Linked DNA regions of Homo sapiens: regions 2, 3, 4, 5, 6 and 7 are each linked to region 1. Evidence: promoter capture Hi-C in 16 types of primary human blood cells and fetal thymus (Javierre and others, 2016). All regions are on one chromosome and are shown on one strand. Each heading gives the region's core, a stretch centred on a gene start or on the middle of the fragment in contact. The rest is flanking DNA. Distances are from core to core; before and after follow the strand shown.

What was found. The method cuts DNA at HindIII sites, captures the fragments that hold promoters and counts their contacts. A CHiCAGO score of 5 or more calls a contact.
Region 2: a contact is called between a fragment that was not itself captured here and the fragment with the promoter of TMSB10 in region 1, in 1 of 17 cell types (M1 macrophages). The highest score is 5.9, in M1 macrophages.
Region 3: a fragment that was not itself captured here is called in contact with the fragment with the promoter of TMSB10 in region 1 in 5 of 17 cell types (M2 macrophages, total B cells, non-activated CD4 T cells and 2 more); the score reaches 6.7 in M2 macrophages.
Region 4: a contact is called between a fragment that was not itself captured here and the fragment with the promoter of TMSB10 in region 1, in 4 of 17 cell types (M0 macrophages, fetal thymus, total B cells and 1 more). The highest score is 9.1, in M0 macrophages.
Region 5: a contact is called between a fragment that was not itself captured here and the fragment with the promoter of TMSB10 in region 1, in 8 of 17 cell types (non-activated CD4 T cells, naive CD8 T cells, naive B cells and 5 more). The highest score is 11.4, in non-activated CD4 T cells.
Region 6: a fragment that was not itself captured here is called in contact with the fragment with the promoter of TMSB10 in region 1 in 1 of 17 cell types (M0 macrophages); the score reaches 5.8 in M0 macrophages.
Region 7: a fragment that was not itself captured here is called in contact with the fragment with the promoter of TMSB10 in region 1 in 8 of 17 cell types (naive CD4 T cells, non-activated CD4 T cells, naive CD8 T cells and 5 more); the score reaches 11.7 in naive CD4 T cells.

The regions. Positions count from the first base shown.
Region 1 is chr2:84,904,163-84,907,002 of GRCh38, reverse strand. It overlaps TMSB10 (thymosin beta 10), which reads right to left and starts at 1,347. Exons shown (of 3, transcript NM_021103.4): 1 at 1,285-1,347; 2 at 886-1,000; 3 at 332-614. The coding sequence starts at 985. The coding sequence ends at 580. LOC105374836 (a long non-coding RNA gene) reads left to right here. Exons shown (of 2, transcript XR_940308.3): 1 at 1-340. RefSeq lists enhancers at 21-80, 1-1,084 and a silencer at 1,051-1,590. The HindIII fragment of the contact is 2,703 bases long and covers 728-2,840 here.
Region 2 is chr2:84,442,962-84,445,801 of GRCh38, reverse strand. It overlaps SUCLG1 (succinate-CoA ligase GDP/ADP-forming subunit alpha), which reads left to right. Exons shown (of 9, transcript NM_003849.4): 3 at 2,402-2,518. Among named protein-coding and RNA genes, the nearest start is that of SUCLG1, 15 kb to the left of the region's middle. The HindIII fragment of the contact is 5,313 bases long and covers 1-2,840 here.
Region 3 is chr2:84,465,668-84,468,507 of GRCh38, reverse strand. It overlaps a transcript of DNAH6 not described here. Among named protein-coding and RNA genes, the nearest start is that of SUCLG1, 7.8 kb to the right of the region's middle. The HindIII fragment of the contact is 3,272 bases long and covers 1-2,840 here.
Region 4 is chr2:85,325,091-85,327,930 of GRCh38, reverse strand. It overlaps TGOLN2 (trans-golgi network protein 2), which reads left to right. Exons shown (of 4, transcript NM_006464.4): 1 at 1-14; 2 at 246-1,423. Among named protein-coding and RNA genes, the nearest start is that of TGOLN2, 1.5 kb to the left of the region's middle. RefSeq lists enhancers at 750-929, 1,170-1,339. The HindIII fragment of the contact is 413 bases long and covers 1,066-1,478 here.
Region 5 is chr2:84,487,557-84,490,396 of GRCh38, reverse strand. It overlaps a transcript of DNAH6 not described here. Among named protein-coding and RNA genes, the nearest start is that of DNAH6, 28 kb to the left of the region's middle. The HindIII fragment of the contact is 5,264 bases long and covers 1-2,840 here.
Region 6 is chr2:85,308,868-85,311,707 of GRCh38, reverse strand. TCF7L1 (transcription factor 7 like 1) reads right to left here. Exons shown (of 12, transcript NM_031283.3): 12 at 1,321-2,679. The coding sequence ends at 2,246. Among named protein-coding and RNA genes, the nearest start is that of TGOLN2, 18 kb to the left of the region's middle. RefSeq lists an enhancer at 1,189-2,072. The HindIII fragment of the contact is 9,071 bases long and covers 1-2,840 here.
Region 7 is chr2:84,511,510-84,514,349 of GRCh38, reverse strand. It overlaps a transcript of DNAH6 not described here. Among named protein-coding and RNA genes, the nearest start is that of DNAH6, 3.6 kb to the left of the region's middle. The HindIII fragment of the contact is 3,512 bases long and covers 1-2,840 here.

The sequences.
Region 1 (2,840 bases), core at 98-2,597:
GCTAGGAGGAGGCCAGAGGGAAACAGTGGGGCTTTCGAAGCTTATCAAAAGCAAACCTTGCTCTTTTGAAAAAGCATTTTCCAACGCAACCTGGGGACAAAGTGGGGTTAAATTTTACACAGATTGCTTACGAGCAAGAGTTAAGTGGCTAACAAGTCATGAAATCTTACGGAGAAGCAGGTAAAGCCAAAATTAAAAACTCCCTCCGAGTCAGCCCATTCTGCGACCCACCTCCTCCCCTTTGCGGCAGGAACTCTACTCCATCGAGGGGCTTTGCTGCAGTGGCACTGCCCACGCATACTCAACTAAAAGACTCAGACCACGCCAGCCATGCCACGAGGTGTGTTTTATTTTCATTATTCATACAAATAATTTTCTATAATATCCCGGGGCAAACCGGAGAATTTGGCAGTCCGATTGGGGGGGGGTCCCTTCAGAGACCCACAGGCCGGTGGCATCGGCGCGGAGTGCCCAGGTTCACAGTGCAGCTTGTGGCTCGTGTCCATCTTGCAGGTGGCTCTTCCTCCACATCACGACTGGGGTCTCGAAGAGGACGGGGGTAGGAAATCCTCCAGGATCTTAGGAAATTTCACTCCGCTTCTCCTGCTCAATGGCTGTGGAGAGCGGGAAGCGGGCGCTGGAGGGGAGCTGCAACCCCCACCCGCAACCGAGGTGCTTCCCGGTGTGGGCGAGGCACCCACGAGGTGTGGGGATTTAGAAGGAAGCTTGGGGCTGGGGAGAAACAAGGCGCTTTGTGAAACTGAAAGAGTGGCCGGGGCCGCCCACACCGGGGACAACGGCGGGGTGGGGGGTGGAGGAGTGGGTTTGCAAGGAAGAGCAGGGTGAGGGGCTGGGCTGGGGCGCGGGAGACCGAGGCACACTCACTCTCTTTGGTCGGCAGGGTGTTCTTCTCCTGCGTCTCCGTTTTCTTCAGCTTGGCCTTATCGAAGCTGGCGATTTCCCCCATGTCTGGTTTGTCTGCCATTTTCTTAAAACAATCCTAGTGGGCAAACCAAGGCGCTTGACCTGGGCCTGGGGGCCAGCGTCCCCTTCCGCGCTCCCCGCCGACGCCTCTCGACGTGGCACTCGCGCCAAGGCGTGCCGAGCAGCCCCAAGGCCGAGGATCTGGGCGCGTCCCGCACCCCTCTTCTCGGTCCCAGGGCGTGGTCGCCGGCCCCTGCGTCCGGTCCGAGAAGGGCGCCTGTCGCGGTTGCGGCGCGCCCGCCCGGTGCACCGGATCCGACCACACCCTGGGTGGGCCCCCCGCCCCGGCGCCGCACTCACCGTGCAGTCTCGTTCCGAGCCCGAGATCCTGGTGCTCCCACTCGCGTTGCTGCAGCAAGAAACAAAAGAGCGGCGCCCGCCCCTAGCCTTATATACGCCGCGCCCCGCCCCGCCCCTCACCCGCCGCAGCAGGGGCGGTGCTGGCACCCGAGGGGCGGGAGCAGCGCGGGCTGCTCCTCGCCCTGCCGCGCCCCCCGCTGGGCTACCAGCCCGGCTGGGCGCGGCTTCTCCCGCGCCGGGCACCCCCAGCTCGCAGTGTGCCCAGCGTGGGGGCTGTAGTCGCCGCCAGAGTGGGCGCCAGGCCCCCGGCTTTGCTTTTGCGGCTACATTTCCCCCTTTCCGGGAATCTGCTGCTCACCCCGCAGAAAGGATATGGGACCGGCGTGGGAGGGTGTGTGGTTTTGTGCGTGTGCAGATATGATGTGTAGCCGTGGGTGTGGATGTGCGGGCGTGCACGCGCACTCTGCAGCAATCCTCGCTCTAGGAGACGCCCCACCCCAGTCGCCCCCAGGCCTCTTGCTTTTGCTCCTCCAGAGTCCCCTTCCCTCCCCCACTTTTCCTCTCCTTAGGGAGGCTGAGTCCTAAGGTGGTCCTGCACTAAAAGAATTCGAGCCGAGGGTCCCGTAGTGGAGCGGGGGGCGGGGGGGTGTAGGGGGAGGGGGGAATAGGTTTCCAGCGCTCTTTGCTCAGGTTGGGGGCGGTTGCCTTCTGGTCAGTCGTCCCCTGTTCCCTGAACTGGGCGGTTCCAGCAGGATCGTTGGCGTGGCGGGTGTTCCTTAAATGCTGTTAGACGCATTGTGTGAAGGGCTGTGGTGGGAACAGGGCGTCCCGAGAAGGCTCGCAGTTTGCCTTTTCTCGTCGAGCTCCTAGAAACACTGTATCAGCGGGTGCGGTTTTCCTCCTTGAAGTTAACCTTGAGGATAATAGAGACCCACATGCCTACAAACGTTCTTGTTTTTCTTATTAACCCATTGTAGGAGTGGTATACTGCAATTATTCACATCTTTCTTAGAAAAGTTGTATTTTCAGCCTGTGCAACACCGTTAGGTAATAAGTTCCATAAATTACCAGCCCCGGAGTTAAGGCTGGTCATTCTTTTATTTGTCCTGACCTTTCCTTTTTTAAGTGTGAAGTATTACCGAGCTCTTTAAAGTGGGATTTGGTGGTGACATCCTAAATTCGGTCCTGATTTTATTTATTTACTTTTTTTGAGACAGGGTCTCACTCTGTCACCCAGGCTGGAGTGCAGTGGTGTGATCACGGCTTATGGCAGCCTGGACTTCCCCGGTTCAAGTGATTCTTCCACCTCAGCCTCCTGAGCAGTTGGGACTGCGGGCGTGCACCACCACTAGCGGCAAATCTTTTGTGTTCTTTTTGTAGAGACGAGATTTCACCATGTTGCCCAGGCTGGTCTCGAACTTCTGGGCTCAAGCCATCTGCCTGCCTTAACCTCCCAAAGTGCTGGGATTACAAGCCTGAGCACCACTCCCTGCTTCTCCCCTCCTGATTTTACCTGCTTTTCTCACGTTCCTTCAGTTTGGAACAGTGGGAAGAGA
Region 2 (2,840 bases), core at 221-2,720, 460 kb after region 1:
TGTGGGGATTAGATTGAAGGGGAGCAAGGGCAATAACCCGTCAAGAGTTGAAGTGACTTAGACCAAGGTGATAGCAGTAGAAGGGGGAGGAGTTGTCAATTATACTTTGAAGATAGAGAAATAAGCTCTACTAATGGATCTAATATGGGACATATGAGAAAGAGAATAATCAAGGATGGCTTCAGTATTTTTGGTCTGATTATCTGTAAGGCGTGAAGTTGTCTTTAACTGAGATGGGGTAGATGGAGGGGAGTGATTGGGAACTCAGTTTTGGACATGTTGAGTTTGAGATGCCTGCTAGTTCTCAAAGTGGAGGTGTCAGGTAGGCAGTTGACAATGTGAATATGGAGTTCAAGGCTTAGATATGTGGGGTGTATGTGTCTTTGTGTATGTGGGAGGGGTCACCATATGGATGATATGTATTGCCATGATAAGGGATGACATCACCAAGGGCATGAATTTAGATGAAAAAGAGAAGTCTAAGGTGTTGCGGGAAGTCAGGAACCCTGAACGGAGGGACCGGCTGAAGCCACGGCAGAAGAACATAAATTGTGAAGATTTCATAGACATTTATTAGTTCCCCAAATTAATACTTTTATAATTTCTTACGCCTGTCTTTACTGCAATCTCTGAACATAAATTGTGATGATTTCATGGACACTTATCACTTCCCCAATCAATATCCTTGTGATTTCCTATGCCTGTCTTTACTTTAATCTCTTAGTCCCATCATCTTTGTGAGCTGAGGAGGATGTATGTCGCCTCAGGACCCTGTGATGATTGCATTAACTGCACAAATTGTTTGTAGAGCATGTGTGTTTGAACAATATGAAATCTGGGCACCATGAAAAAGGAACAGGATAACAGCAATGTTCAGGGAACAAGAGAGATAACCTTAAACTCTGACCACCGGTGAGCCGGGCGGAACAGAGCCATATTTTTTCAAAAGCAAATGGGAGAAATATCTCTGAATTCTTTTTCTCAGCAAGGAACATCCCTGAGAAAGAGAATGCATCCCTGAGGGTAGGCCTCTAAAATGGCCACTTCGGGGGGCGGCCATCTTTTGTGGTTGCAGCTGTAGGGATGAAATAAGCCCCAGTCTCCCGTAGTGCTCCCAGGCTTATTAGGATGAGAAAATTCCCGCCTAATAATTTTTGGTCAGACCGGTTGTCTGCTCTCAAAGCCTGTCTCCTGATAAGATATTATCAATGCAATGCGTGCTGGAAACTTCATTAGCAATTTTAATTTCGCCCCGGTCCTGTGGTCCTGTGGTCCTGTGATCTCACCCTGCCTCCATTTGCCTTGTGATATTCTATTACCTTGTGAAGCACATGATCTCTGTGACCCACACCCTATTTGTACACTCCCTCCCCTTTTGAAAATCACTAATAAAAACTTGCTGGTTTTACGGCTTAGGGGGCATCATGGAACCTGCCGACATGTGATGTCTTCCCCGGACACCCAGCTTTAAAATTTCTCTCTTTTGTACTCTGTCCCTTTATTTCTCAGACCAGCTGACACTTAGGGAATATGGAAAAGAACCTAAGTGAAATATCGGGGGTGAATTTTGCCCAATATCTGGCTGAATTTCCCCCAATACTAAGGAGAGAGAAAGAGAAGAGGAAAACCAGGGGAAGTCAAGCCCCAGAAGCCTAGTGAAAATGAATCAGTCCTTGGAGCTGTTTTTGGTTGTCATTAACTGGATGGAATTATGAGAGTTAGGAGGGTGTGCTACTGGCATCTAATGAGTGGAGCCCATGGATGCTGCTAAATGTCCCACTAGGCACTGGATGACCTCTCATAAGAAAGAATCATCCTGTCCAAAATGTCAATAATGCTGAGGTTGAGGAGGAAAAGTGAATGGATAGAGAAATACAGGTTGGTGGGTGGGCAGTATTGAAGGCTTACTTAAGGTGAGTGATCATTAATTTAAAATGAGACCAGTTGACATGTTTTTTTGTTTTTTTTTCCCTTAGCCACTTTTTGGCTGCACATGTATAGGCTTAGAAGTAGGGGAAAAATTGGATTTGACCCAGGTTGTGGTTTTGCCAGATATTTAAGTTGAAGTGAGAGAAAGCCAAGATTGTTGTGGGAGGGTAATGATCTACCATGAATTTTAAACTGAGGAGTGTGAGCACATGAGGAGTTGAGAAACAGGGAGTTTCTGGTTATCAGCCAAGTTTGAAAACAGGGAATCAAAGAGGCCTTGTTTATAGCTATTTTGGCTTTTCAGAGGCTTGTTTTGCTTCAAGATTCAAAGCTATGTTTAGTAAATATATGTTATTGTCTGGGAATAGTTAACCTATTTGTTTTTCTTTTCCTAAGTTGCTAAGATTGCTTTTGCTTCTCTTGGGCTTACCAGTCTGCTGTTTCTCATGGATCTTGTGCTTTTTCCCCTCAGGGCACCTTTCACAGCCAGCAGGCATTGGAATATGGCACCAAACTCGTTGGAGGAACCACTCCAGGGAAAGGAGGCCAGACACATCTGGGCTTACCTGTCTTTAATACTGTGAAGGAGGTAATTAGTGGTACCTGAGTTTGGCAAGACAAGAAAAGCAAGGGAAGAGCGAGCATTCTTTGGGTAGAGATCTTAATTATGTTTTTTTGGTAGAGTCACTTGCTATTTGAAAATTCAGTAACCTAGAGAAATTTGAATTGCCATCAAAACCAGTGTGTTATTTTTGTTTCTAGGTATGAATCAGCTATTAAGGGAGGAAGTACTGTGGCCAGGCTTCTGTTGGGCTTTTTACGCTTTCCTTACCTTTCTTCTTCCAGTATGTTAGTAGTACAAATGTCAGCAACCACCCCTTAATTCTTCCTGAGTGGGGACTATGCAGTAG
Region 3 (2,840 bases), core at 1-2,500, 440 kb after region 1:
GCATAAGAAATTCTAAAAGGGCTTTATTAAAGAGTGCTATGGTTAAAATCAGTTTAGTTAAAAACAGATATTCAAGCTCTAACAGCCTGGACTCCTTGGGGTAAACAGGAGGCACCACAGACCCTTTCCTGGCCCTGTTCTTCCAAGGGCTCCACCCTAAAGCTAGTAATCCAATTAAGAAACTTAAAAACCGGCAAATGAAAAATCTTACAACTACTGTAGTAATCTTCTTCTGTCTTTGTGTGTAGCTATATATGTGTTGTGTGTAATGTTTATATAAAAAAACTCTAATTAATTGCCTTAAATAAAAATAAGCACTTAAATCAAATATTTTGAAAGTTAAATAAAAACTAACGCTTTTTACTTCAGGTAACTTTAGTAATCTTTGGGAAATAAAAACAGCTTTAAAAACTATTGATAAAATAAAAACATTTAGTCTAAATTATGTAGGTCAGATATTAAGTTTGCTAAATGCTTTAAGGTCATATAAACCACCTCTTTAACTTTTAAAAAGTGTTCAATTTATTAAAAATTATTGATAAAAGAAAAACATTTAGTCTAAATTATGCAGGTCAGATTAAGTTTGCTAAATGCTTTAAGGTCATAAACCACCTCTTTAACTTTTAAAAATTGTTCAATTTACCTACCTTAAAGCCATTAGATTCTAGATAAGGCCTGGGGACATGTGGAATTAGCCATGTCCCCTAGCTACACAAAGATTATAAATAGAGAGATTTTATATAAGAAAGGATCTCATATGTTAAATTCTTGTCCTAAAGTAAAATGACTGGTTGTTTAAAAGGAGGGATGTTTAGGGCAAGTCAGAAAGTCCAAGAATGTCTCAGATGGTCTGTGTAAGCCATGAAAGGGTTTATGCAAGAAATGTTGTACAATTCAAAGGTTGTTAGACCTCCTAAATGCCTCATAAAATGCCACTATGACTCTCACTCTACAACTTGCTTGCTTAAGTAAGGTACGGCCTTGGGACATGTGGAGTTAGCCTCCTAGCTATGCTGGAGTCAGCTCTTATCTGCACTTCTGCCTGTTGTCTCCTAGGCTAGGCTCCACACCTGGCACATAATTAAAATCTTGAACTTGTCAAGGTTTTCATCAAAAATAAAAGTTGCTAAGCGTTAACACTGTAACATGTAATTGAGACTCTTGAAGAAACAGTTTTATATGCAAGATGTGTAAGAAAAGTAAAATGTGTTTATGGTAAAAAAAAGATTGTAAGAAGGCATGGGAATGTGGATTTTTCTTGCCTAGATTAAAGGATTAAAGGATTGTTTTAAGTTAGGATAAATCTGAAGGTTTAAGCAAGTTGTAAAAGTTTTGTGAAACATTAATTGTAAAAGAGATTCTGCGTGAACACACTGGCTAAAGTTAAAGGGGTATTCAGTTTTTCTGTAAACTGAACATTGGAATAAATGCAAACCAGGTTTTTCTTAGAGCAAAAACCTGCTTATGATCTGCTCTTTAACAAAAATTTGTAAAAACGGTGTTTGGTTTTCTTTGGGCTGTATTTCTATAAATGTGTTATTGGTATATGTGTTCCAAAACTATGGGAAACTCCTATAATTTTGATATGACTTAGTGTACATTATCAGTAATGATTATAATTGTTGTTTTGAATTATTGTATGCCACAGAGGTAACCAAATTTCTTTGTCAATCATGTTTTTAACTGTGGCTATCCTAAGACGTTTTGTCATCCACAAATGATTGTTACCTTGTTTTAATCCTCTTTAGAAGTTGGTTTATAATCAATTATAGAACTCTAACTGGTATTCTTAAATGCAGGTTTTCTGATAAGTGGAGACTGTGACATCAGAATAGAGGAAAACATTTTCAGAACTCTCATAGAGAGCTATAATGTTCATAACTATTAAACAGAAGTTAACTACATGAACTAAGCTGAAGAAGCCTAATCTTTTTAACTTTGCTTAAAATATTGCTGATCCTTTGTTTTGTTTTTCAGAATCGAGGAAACTTTTTTTTGAGCTATTTACAGGTTTTAGCAATTGAGTAGAGTAAGCTACTGTGAACAAAATTTGCAGCATATTTGTTTCTCTCTACCTGATTTCTCCAAAATTTGGAAACTGAGAGTATTCTTAATTTATAGCAATATAGTTATTTGCATAAGTGCAATAAGAATCTGTTTTCTTTTGTAACAGGACACAATTGGAGAAATTGATTATTTTACCAAGGCTTTGACTGGAATGGTGTGCTTTCCTTTAAGGAATCAAACTTGACTTGTAGAGCCAATAAAAGCCCTTTGGGGAACTGGCCTCATACCTTGCCTACACAATCCCTGTACAGGGTTTCTGGCCTGTAAGTAAAGAAGTTAAGTAAATAACGGTAGGTAAAGAATGCCACGTTCTCACAGGTCCAGGAGCCCCAGGTTACCTTGGGACCTCAAAAGGAGAGAAATTTACCCAACTCATAGGTATTTGAGGATAAAAACCTATGGCAGGGCTCGGCTTTAAAAAAGTCTTATCTGAGATTGTTCTATGGAAGAGAGTTCCATCAAAGCCAACTTAAAAAGAGCTTACATGAAAAATAATTATTCTTGCTGTACTTTATACAAATAATCAGGCCAAGTATAATAAAACAAATTGGTCTTATCATGCTTTGTCTTTAGTAAAAATTGGAATTATTAGATTCTAGTCTTATCAATTGTTTTTAAGTTTGTCTTTGCAATTTAGGCTAACCCTGCTTATTCCTGTGAAACAACTAGTAATCTCTGACTGCTACTCAGAAGAAACAAGAGGGTTGGGTAATGTAAAAATTTGGATCAATACTCTAATCCTGGGCACATATTGGAATCATCTAGCAACCCCG
Region 4 (2,840 bases), core at 23-2,522, 420 kb before region 1:
CGTCGCAGCGGCGGGTAAGACCCTCCATCCCGCATCCCACTCTTGCCCCCAGATCCCCCATTCTCACCTGGGCAGGTCACCTCTAGGCTCGCTTCTTCCCTACCCGACCCACCTCTCCGCTCGCCATCGTCTCCCGCCCCACCCCCCAATCCCCATTCCCCCGCTGCTCCCGATCTCTTCCAGTTCTGAGGAGTTCCTTCTTCCCGCCTGCCCTTCTCCGGTGCTAACTCGTTTTTCTATTTCAGGAGCCGTGCCGCTCTTGGCCACCGAAAGCGTCAAGCAAGAAGAAGCTGGAGTACGGCCTTCTGCAGGAAACGTCTCCACCCACCCCAGCTTGAGCCAACGGCCTGGAGGCTCTACCAAGTCGCATCCGGAGCCGCAGACTCCAAAAGACAGCCCTAGCAAGTCGAGTGCGGAGGCGCAGACCCCAGAAGACACCCCCAACAAGTCGGGTGCGGAGGCAAAGACCCAAAAAGACAGCTCCAACAAGTCGGGTGCGGAGGCAAAGACCCAAAAAGGCAGCACTAGCAAGTCGGGTTCGGAGGCGCAGACCACAAAAGACAGCACTAGTAAGTCGCATCCGGAGCTGCAGACTCCAAAAGACAGCACTGGCAAATCGGGTGCGGAGGCGCAGACCCCAGAAGACAGCCCCAACAGGTCGGGTGCGGAGGCAAAGACCCAAAAAGACAGCCCTAGCAAGTCAGGTTCGGAGGCGCAGACCACAAAAGATGTCCCTAATAAGTCGGGTGCGGACGGCCAGACCCCAAAAGACGGCTCCAGCAAGTCGGGTGCGGAGGATCAGACCCCAAAAGACGTCCCTAACAAGTCGGGTGCGGAGAAGCAGACTCCAAAAGACGGCTCTAACAAGTCCGGTGCAGAGGAGCAGGGCCCAATAGACGGGCCCAGCAAGTCGGGTGCGGAGGAGCAGACCTCAAAAGACAGCCCTAACAAGGTGGTTCCAGAGCAGCCTTCCCGGAAAGACCATTCCAAGCCCATCTCCAACCCTTCTGATAACAAGGAGCTCCCCAAGGCTGACACAAACCAGCTTGCTGACAAAGGGAAGCTTTCTCCTCATGCTTTCAAAACCGAATCTGGGGAGGAAACTGACCTCATTTCTCCCCCGCAGGAGGAAGTTAAGTCTTCAGAGCCTACTGAGGATGTGGAGCCCAAAGAGGCTGAAGATGATGATACAGGACCCGAGGAGGGCTCACCGCCCAAAGAAGAGAAAGAAAAGATGTCCGGTTCTGCCTCCAGTGAGAACCGTGAAGGGACACTTTCGGATTCCACGGGTAGCGAGAAGGATGACCTTTATCCGAACGGTTCTGGAAATGGCAGCGCGGAGAGCAGCCACTTCTTTGCATATCTGGTGACTGCAGCCATTCTTGTGGCTGTCCTCTATATCGCTCATCACAACAAGCGGAAGGTAAGTCGACAGCGGCCTTCCGGAGGGGAGTGGGGTTTCCAGCACCCTGGAAGCTTGGGTGTGGGTGGGTATCCCGTCACTAGATGCCCGTGAGCACTGGGGACTTTAAAACAAACTTCAGTTTTTTCCTCAGGCCCTATTAGGCCTCTTTACTCTTGTTTTGTTAATCGTGTTTTCATCCTGTCACCTGTTTACTCTGAGTGTCCTCTGCTACTGCATTAGGAGCCAAGTTAGGACATTATTAGGATCTGACCTGACTTGGAATCTCCTCCCATAACTTTGCACTTAGGTCCTTCACAGCCTCAGAGGACCTGAGTACTTGACAGTTAAAGCACGTACCTTCCATCCTATTTCCCTTCTTGAGACGATATGTCATTTCTAGCTTCCTTTCCCAACATTCTCTCTTCCATCAGCAGTGGCACAAAGAATGGTTTCAATTACTGCGTCTTCGATACCAGGACCAAAGAGCCCAGGGACTTCTGCAATTAATAATAATTAGAAGAAAGCCCAGAAATTGCACAGACACGTACACCTGTTACTTTTTCATCAGGGTTTGGTCTGTTTATTAGCAACCACTCTAATGACAAAATGATTGCATTTCATATTGAGCCCCCAACATTTAGAAGCTAGTTTCTGTAACCTGCTTAAAATTGGAGAGTCCAATTCTGGCCATAAGGCCTATGGCTATAAAGAATAAAGGGGAAGACCTTTAGTAAAAATGTGCATTCCTGGCCCGGTGCAGTGGCTCCTGCCTCTAATCCCAGCACTTTGGGAGGCCGAGGCAGGAGGATCGCTTGAGCCCAGGAGTCCGAGACCAGCCTGGCCAACATAGCAAGACCTCGTCTCTACATATAATAAAAAAATTAGCCAGATGTGGTGGTGGACGTGTGTGGTCCCAGCTACTCAGGAGGCTGAAGTGGGAGGATGGCTTGACTGTGGGAGGTCGAGGCTTCAGTGAGCCATGATCACGCCATTGCACTCCAGCCCGGGTGACAGAGTGAGACCTTGCCTCTAAGAAAAAAAAAAAGTGTATTTCTTATTCTATGTCCAAGTGTCCATTATGCAGGGTAACCTTAGTCATGAAATGAGATTGATAAAGAATGTAGTTGATGTAGCATCGTGGGGTGAAAAAGTACATTTGTAGATAGGAAATTCTGATTATGACTTTTTTTAAAGGAATGTCCTATATCCTAGATATCTCTAGGAAGGAGTTGATAGATCTTTGACTGTGTACCTTTGAATAAATCAAACAGACTTCCTCCCACACGCTAGAGCTCAGACAGCCTTCTATTTGTTATTTCCTATTAAGCAATACAAAGGATTCTGATGTAATTAGGCTCTGTCTTTCTTAAAATGGTTATAGTTTAAATAGACCTCTGTGAGTGTACTGCTCTTTCTACAGTCAGGGTCATTAACA
Region 5 (2,840 bases), core at 187-2,686, 420 kb after region 1:
TATATGACTGGGTACCTTTTTCAAAATGCAAAGAATTGTACATTAAAAGGGTGCTGTTTACTGAATGCACATTAAATTATACAAGAAAAAGTGGAAAAGAAAAGAAAAAGAGAAAGAAAAGAAAGAAGAAAGAAAAGAAAGAGTCAGAAAGAAAGAAAACCAAGCGTTAAGACTTTCTGGAAGAAGTTCAGCAATAACATGAAAGTAGAACACTAAAGACATATCCTATTTCTGTGGAAAACAATATGTGGTAGATACAAACATTTCTGCTGCTGCTTCAGGCCAAAAAGTCCAAGTATTAAAAAAATGTAAAAAACTGAAAAAATGCTTTGTTCTGGGATTCACAGTGTATGGTGGGGGTATTGGTCTTCACTGGGGCCTGAGGGACACAAGATTCAGAAACATCAACAGTGGTGTCATTTCAAGCATCTGTTGATAGTGAGTCTCTATGTTAGTGGTTCTCAAAGTGTGTTCCCTGGGCAGCAGTATCAGCATTACCTGGGAACTCGTTAGAAATGAAAATTTTGCAGCCCCATCTCAGAACTACTGAATCAGAAACTCTGGGGATGAGGTCTAACAACCCATTTTTTAACAAGTCTTCTGGGTGATTCTGAGGCATGCTAAGTTTGAGAACACTGCTCTAGATTAAACAAATATAGGTCAAGGAGTGAACTGTGGGTCTAACCAATTCAGAGTGAATTCTAGCAAGTTCACAGACCATATTCTCTAATCAGCCTTAAGAATAAGGAGGTGCAAGGCAGAGCTAATTTTATAGAGCTTCTTTAAGAGAAAGAAAGAAGAATAGAGAAAGAAAGAAAAAAAGGAAAGAGAAAGAATACATTTGTAGAAACCTGTGAGTATGTGAAGATATCGCTTGGGGCCTTTGGAAGGCCTTGGAAGGAACTTGTCCAAGCAAGGATCCTAAAGCCTAAGCTCCATTCAATACTTACTAAACCTGCATCTGTAGGTTTAGGTTTATCATATCATAAAAGATATGATACATATCTTTTAACTTCAAAAGTATATCATATATAAGGAATGAATTTTTTTCAGCATCACTCTGACTCCTATGTCTTTCTCAAGAAATAATGATGCCTCCCTGATTCAACAATTGAAGAATACATAATTTTCTAGTGGGAATGGGAATTACAATGTGCCCCAGGTAGCAATTATTCAATTAGATGTTGACCCTAAAGACACTCTCATGTTCTCTACCAATAACTTCCAGAAAGTAAAAAAGAAATTTAAAAGATAAAAAAGAAAGCAAAAAAGAAACTCTTACATATGCACACTGTTGAAGTTATAGGGAGGCCAATAACATACCCCACTTTTCCCTGAATGATTTCAGACCTATTTGAGAAATAGACACAGGAGCTAAGTAAATAATCTATATCATCTTTATCATTGATAAAGCTATTATGAGGGAGAGAGCTTATGGTGAGGGCTTATCTGTGCTCCCTGCCACTCATCATCTACATTCCCACCTCCAATCTATACCTAGAGGTAGCTCACCCCAAATAAAGTTTGGATCAGACGTAATGGCCCTACATCACTAATTTAATGCCTGCTATGGTAGACAGAATAATAGCTCCTAAAGATGTTTAGGTCCTCATCCTGGAATGTGTAAATGTGTAAATATGTCTCCTTACATGGCAAAAGGGACTTTCCAGATGTGATTAAAGTAAGGATCTTGAAATGGGGAGATTATCCTGGATTATTCAGGCGGGCCCAATGTAATCATAAGGGTCTACATAAGAGGGAGGAGGCAGGAAGATCAAATTAAAAAAAGAAGTGACGGCGGAAGTAGAGGTTGGAGTGGTATACTTTAAAGCTGAAAGAAGCGGCCAGGAGCCAAGGAATGTGGGTGGCCTCTAGAAATTGGAAAAAATAAAGATTCACTCCTAGAGCCTCCAGAAGGGATGCATCACTGCCAATACTTTAATTTAGATTTAACTTAATTTTAGATTTCTTTTTTTTAATTTTTTTAATTTTTTTATTTTTTTATTTTTTAATTTTTTTTATTATACTTTAAGTTTTAGGGTACATGTGCACATTGTGCAGGTTAGTTACATATGTATACATGTGCCATGCTGGTGCACTGCACCCACTAACTTTTAGATTTCTGACCTCCAGAACAGTAAGAGAATAAATTTGTGTTGTTTTAAACAACATTACCTTTGTGGTAATTTGTTACTCCCACTGTAGAAAACTAACATACCTACCTAGTATTCCCATCGTTGGGCATCTAGACCAGTTCTTATTTTCCCTTGCACATCTTTGTAAGCATGGATGAATTATTTTCTTAGGATGTTTTTTTAATGCCTAAAAACAGAGTACTCAATTTATATTCCTCAAACTGAGTACAAAAGTAGACTGGAATCCTAAGAGTGTGTCAGTTGACAAGACAGGATCTCTTTTAAAAGACAGCTTTGACATGTACAAATATCCCACTGTGTCAGGATGTCCTAGATTAGGTTGTTTGTCCCCAGGAATGTACTTTTCTCTCTACACAGTTATCCCCATAGACAGGGACTTGGTACCAGGTCCAAAGAGTATAATCAGCAATTCAGTAACAGGTTTTAAGTGCTGACCTCAGGTCTCCCGCTGACCTGGAAAGGGGCCTGCCCTTGCTCTCTGGCTTCTTCCACCAGTGGGCCCAAATATTTGTGAAATTCAAGCTGTGCTTCATTACGGGCAGACTTTAGGCCCCTATTCACAGGCAGCATTATTTGGCAAGTGTCTACAAGGGCTGCTCAAGATTTAACCACAAATCTTTCCTATATTGTCTATGACTTTAATACAAGAGATAAGTTTGAGTTCTGTCTCCTCCATCCAGGGAC
Region 6 (2,840 bases), core at 253-2,752, 400 kb before region 1:
CACTCTATGATGTTCACACAATAAAATTGCCCAACGACGCATTTGTGAGAACGTTGTCTCAGTTGCTAAGCGATGCATGACTGTATATGAAATGTCTAGAATAGACAAGTTTGGAGACAGAAAGTAGATTAGTGGTTGCCTAGGGCTGGGGGAGATGGGCAAAATGTGGAGTGATTTTCAAAGGATATGGGGCTTCCTTTGGGACTGACAAAAACTTTCTAAAATTGACTGGTGATAGGTGCACAACTCTGAACATACAGCCAATGAATTGTCTACTTTTTTTTCTTTTCTGAGATGAAGTTTTGCTCTGTTGCCCAGGCTGGAGTGCAATGGCGCTGTCTCGGCTCACTGCAACCTCCACCTCCCGGGTTTAAGCGATTCTCCTGTCTCAGCCTCCCAAGTAGCTGGGATTACAGGTGCGCACCATCATGCCTGGCTAATTTTTGTATTTTTAGTAGAGACGGGGTTTCGCCATGTTGGCCAGGCTGGTCTCGAACTCCTGACCTCAGGTGATCCACCCGCCTCGGCCTCCCAAAGTGCTAGGATTACAGGTGTGAGCCATCGCACCCAGCCTGAATTGTATACCTTTTTTGTTTGAGGCAGAGTCTTACTCTGTTGAGAAGGCTGGAATGCAGTGGCACAATCATAACTCACTGCAGTCTTGAGCTCCTGAGCTCAAGCAATCCTCCTGCCTCAGCCTCCTGAGAAGCTGGGACTACAGGCTTGTGTGCCACCATCCCCAGCTAGTTGCTTTTTTTTTTTTTTTTAAAGAGATCAGGTCTTGCTATGTTGCCCAGGCTAGTCCTGAACTCCTGGCCTCAAGTCATCTTCCTGCCTCAGCCTCTCAAAGCATTGGGATTATAGGCAAGAGCGGCTCTGCCCAGCTGAACTGTATACTTTAAATGGGTGAAGTGTAACTTTAAATGGCTGAAGTATATCTCCATAAAGCTGTTACAAAAAATTAATTGTGGTGCTAGATACTATGGAAAGTATCCAAAAGATGCTTCCTCACATCTTGGCAATTACGAGTCAAATGGGTGATAGAAGCATAAGCTGAATGTCATTCCAGGCGGCAAATTCATTTAAATCAGCTGTGAAAATGATTACCCCCTTTGCAGCTCAGTCATGGACACTGACTGGCCCATGCACATTTGAGACAGGAAGCTGGGTTCAGGTTTTCTAAGGGTGTCAGGCATGCCTAACATTCCCCTGTGGCAAGTGGCAATCTTCCTTTGCATATCTGCGAAAGTCTAACACAGGGTTTGGGAGTGAAACAAACAGGTGGTTTGATTCAACAAAAGCACTAAAGAAACACTCAGAAAAGGTCTTGCAACTGCAATTTTATTTTCTTTTGTGAAAATAAACAACTGGGAGTTTAAATTGCTCCAAAAACCATAAAAACAAAAAGAAATACACACAGAAGAAGCATGTGAGGTGATGGGGAAGGGAACAGGGTCTCTAGAACTTTGGCAGATTGTGCTGGCACGGACCCAGGTGACAGGAGCCAGACCATGGGGCCGGTCCCGCCTGCCACTCTGGGATTGTGAAGGGATGATCGCCACTGGCAAGGACGGGGAGGAACACAGACTTCTTCGCTGAGGAAGTGGCAGGCACCTTGAGTCCCTTTAAATGCGGGGGTTGGGAGGAAACCATTTCAGAGGACCGCTTTCTCCACTGAAAGCTGGGGCTGGCGAGTTCGGGCCCACTGAGGGAGGGGACGCTGGTGGCAGCAAATCAGGCCAAGATGTCTTCTCACATGGTGATGGCCTCACACTGGGCAGAGGACAGAGGACGAAGAAGAACCCACGGTATTGAGCAGACGATGAAAACTTGGGCTGGGTAACAGGAAATGTCACAATGGCAGAGCTGCAGATGGAGTCGGGGAAGCTGGGGCAGGCGGCAGGGGCGAGAAGAGACAGGAGACAGAAAGTGCAAGAGAGGTAAGAGAGAGAAGTGCCCTCTGCCCAGGTCCATCCACCACAGCACCTACAGGACGAATAGCACGCTACTTTTCAGTTCTCTTTCTTATAAAGATTTTTTTTTGTTGTTTTGTTTTGTTTTTTAAAAAAGCCTTAAGATCAGCTACTGGTTACATCTACAAACTGTAAAGTGCTGTTGTTACCAGCCACTTTACAGAACAGTCCAGAGTGGTCAAATATTGACCAATAAAGTCTCCTTTTTCTTTTTCTTCTGAATCATTACTACTCAATGAGTCATGTGACAGCCTGCAGGGGTCGGGGGGAGCTTAGTGGGCAGACTTGGTGACCAGGGAAAGAGGCTGGGCCTGTAGCACCGGGAGGGCCTGGTGGGCATGGAGCGTGGCGGGGAAGGACGGGGGAGAGGCCAGCAGAGCTGTGGGCATGGACCCAAGGGGGAGGGGCCGGGACAGGAGGGGAGGCTGGCTGCCCATCTGCCCAGAGGAGGAGGCTGCAGCCTTAGCCGACAGGAAGGCGGCAGAGTGGAGAGCCAGCTGGGCCCGGGTTTCTGGTTTGGTGGTGAGGGAGAGGGGCTGGGCTTGCTCCGAATGGGTGGCAGCAGGGGCAGCTGGTGAGGCCAAAGCTGCAGAGGGAGTGGCCGGGGAGTCCAGCATGCTCCCGTGGGAGGAGGCAGGGCTGTCACAGGGCTTCTCGGGGGGCAGGTACTGAACACATGGCTTCTTGCTCTTGGAGGCCAGGGCACCTAGGGGGAAAATACAAGAAAGAGTGAGCAGCTATAGCTCTGTGAGAGGAGGAGGCTGAGGAACAGCCCTGGCGATACATGTGCTTTGGAGACACAGGGATGATTTTGGCGAGGACCTGACATTACTTCCAAGGCTTTCAAGACTAGGAAACTGCATTCAC
Region 7 (2,840 bases), core at 86-2,585, 390 kb after region 1:
TGTGACTTTCCCAAGTCACTTCAGAGGTAGTAAGTGGCAGAGCTGAGATACAAATCCAGATCCATCAACTTAAATTTCTATATGAATTTGAGCCCAAGATTATTGAATCATAGAATTCTGCTTCTGGATATATAGTGGAGTATAGCAGGGCTCACAGAAATAAGGGAATCCTCAAGTGTCAAAATAATAATCAGATGAAACCAGAGCAATAAATAACATGGAAGCTGTGGGTGCTGTGGGTACAAATGCCTATACAAAGAACATATAGCTTCAGGGATTAATGCTGAGGAGAAATGGAAGACTAGGCCTTGCTTGAGTCTACACAAAATGGAAGAGCAAACTACAGTTGCCACACACATCTGAGACTGTTGGAAGAATTATCCCCTCAGTAATAGGTTGGACTAGGAAAAAACTGGCAGTGACAAAAACCTACAGGAAAACCAGCATATTTCTACCTGTAGATCCAGGTGGGAAAAAATTGTTAAAAATATAATAGTCTCCCCCAGGAATTTAGGAGTATAGACAAAACTAGTTCTGGGTTTTTCATTTACACTACCTATGTGGTCTGGGGAAAAAAATGCAAGCTACTAGGAAATACCCATGAAGAGAAAGGCATCATCAACTCTGAGTCCTTAGAATTCTCACAAGTTAGTTTCAGCCAAATATAAATTTACAATTAAAAAAAACCCAAGCATACAAGAAAACAAGCCACTCCAAACAAGAGTTAGCAGAATAAACAAGACTTAAAAGGCAAACACATTATATATTAGAACTCTTAAATATAGAATACATAAAATATTTATGAAATGTTCAAGGATAATGACAATATAAAATTTAAAAGTAATTATGGGAATAACATTAGCAAAAATGGTAGAGTAAGGAACTCTAAAAGTCCATCCTTCCACAAAAGTTGTAAGACTTCAGTGACTTTAGAGATTTCAGTAACCACATGTGACAAAGCATACAGTCTTTAAATAATAGTTTACAAAAGTCAGCAACAAACAAATACAACCTACAACAGGCAGAAACAACAAATTCTTAGAAGGCAGGAGAATCTGATTTCCCGAGTTACCATATTATAATATTCAACATATCCAATATCCAATTTTCAACCAAAAGTATGAGACATGCAAACAAAGAAAGTATGGTCCACTTACAGGAAGAAAAACTTAATTAATTATAAATTAAGATGTTAATTGTAATCACAGGGCAACCACTAAGAAAATAACTAAAAAAAAATAGATAAAAAGTGAACCAAAATGGTACACTTAAAAAAATCTACCTCATACAAAAGAAGGCAATAGTGAAAGAATTGAAAAATAACATATAGAAAACAAATACAAAATGTCAAAAGTAAGTCCTTCCTCATCAGTAATTACATTAAATGGAAATTGATTAAACCTATCAGTTAAAAGGCAGAATGAATAAAAAACATGACTCAAATACACATTGTCTATAAGAGACATACTTTAGATTCAAAAACAGGATAGGTTAAAATAAAGGAAAAAAGATATTTCATGCATACTGTAAGCAAAAGAAAGTGGCAGTGGCTATGCTAATATTAAACAAAATAGACTTTAAGACAAAAATTGTGATGAGAGATAAAGGTTATGAAAAGAGTCAATCCATCAAGAAGCTAGAACAATTAAAACATATGTTCACCTAAAAACACAGTCCCAAAACATATGAAGTAATAACCAACAGAATCGAAGGGAGAAATAGACAATTCAACAACAGCAGTTGAAGATTCTAGCTTTCAGTAATGATAGAAAAACCATTGCTATGGTTTGAATGTGTCCCCTGAAGTTCATATGTTGGAAAATTAATCCTCAATGCAACAGTGTTGAGAGGTGGGGCCTAATAAGAGGTGATTAGGTCAAAATGGAGACGTAATGCAGAGACCTCATGAATGGATTCATGTCGTTTTCTTGGGAGTAGGGTAGTTATTGAGAAGGCTTGTTATAAAAGTGAGTTGGACCCTCTCTTGTTCTCTCATATATTCTCTTGCCCTTCCATCTTCCATCATGGGGGAATGCAACATGAGGTCCCTTACCAGATGCCACTGGCCTCTCAACTTTGGACTTCCCAGCCTCCAGAACTGTAAGAAATAACTCTTTGTTCTTTATGAATTATCCAGCCTGTGTTATGTATTCCATTATAGTCACACCAAATTGACTAAGGGACTATAGAAAAGATTAATAAGGAAATAGAATAATTGAGAAACACTATAAAACAAACACGCCTGAAAAACATCTATAAAATGTCCCACCCCCCAAAAAAACAGAAAACACTTTCTTTTCAAGGGCACATGAAACATTCTCTGGGAAAGACCATGTGTTAGGTCACAAAACAAGTCTCAATACATTTTAAAATTCTGCAATCATACAAAATATCTTTTCTGACCACATGAAATAAAATCAGAAATACTAGCAAACTGAATCCAGCAGTATATTCAAAGGATTATACACCATGGGTAAGTATGATTCATCACAGGAATGTAAAAGTATTTCAACATAAAAAAATCATAAATGTAATACATCATATTAACAGAAGAAGAGGGAAAAAAGACAGCATGATCAACTCAATATATGCAGGAAAAAGCATCTGATAAAAATCCATCACTCTTTCATTATAAAAACATTAAACAAGGAATAGGAACAGCTCCAGTCTATAGCTCCCAGCGTGAGCGATACAGAAGACAGGTGATTTCTGCATTTCCAACTGAGGTACTGGGTTCGTCTCACTGGGGAGTGTCAGAAAGTGGGTGTAGGACAGTGGGTGCAGCGCACCGAGAGTGAGCCGAAGCAGGGCGAGGCATCGCCTCACCCGGGAAGCACAAG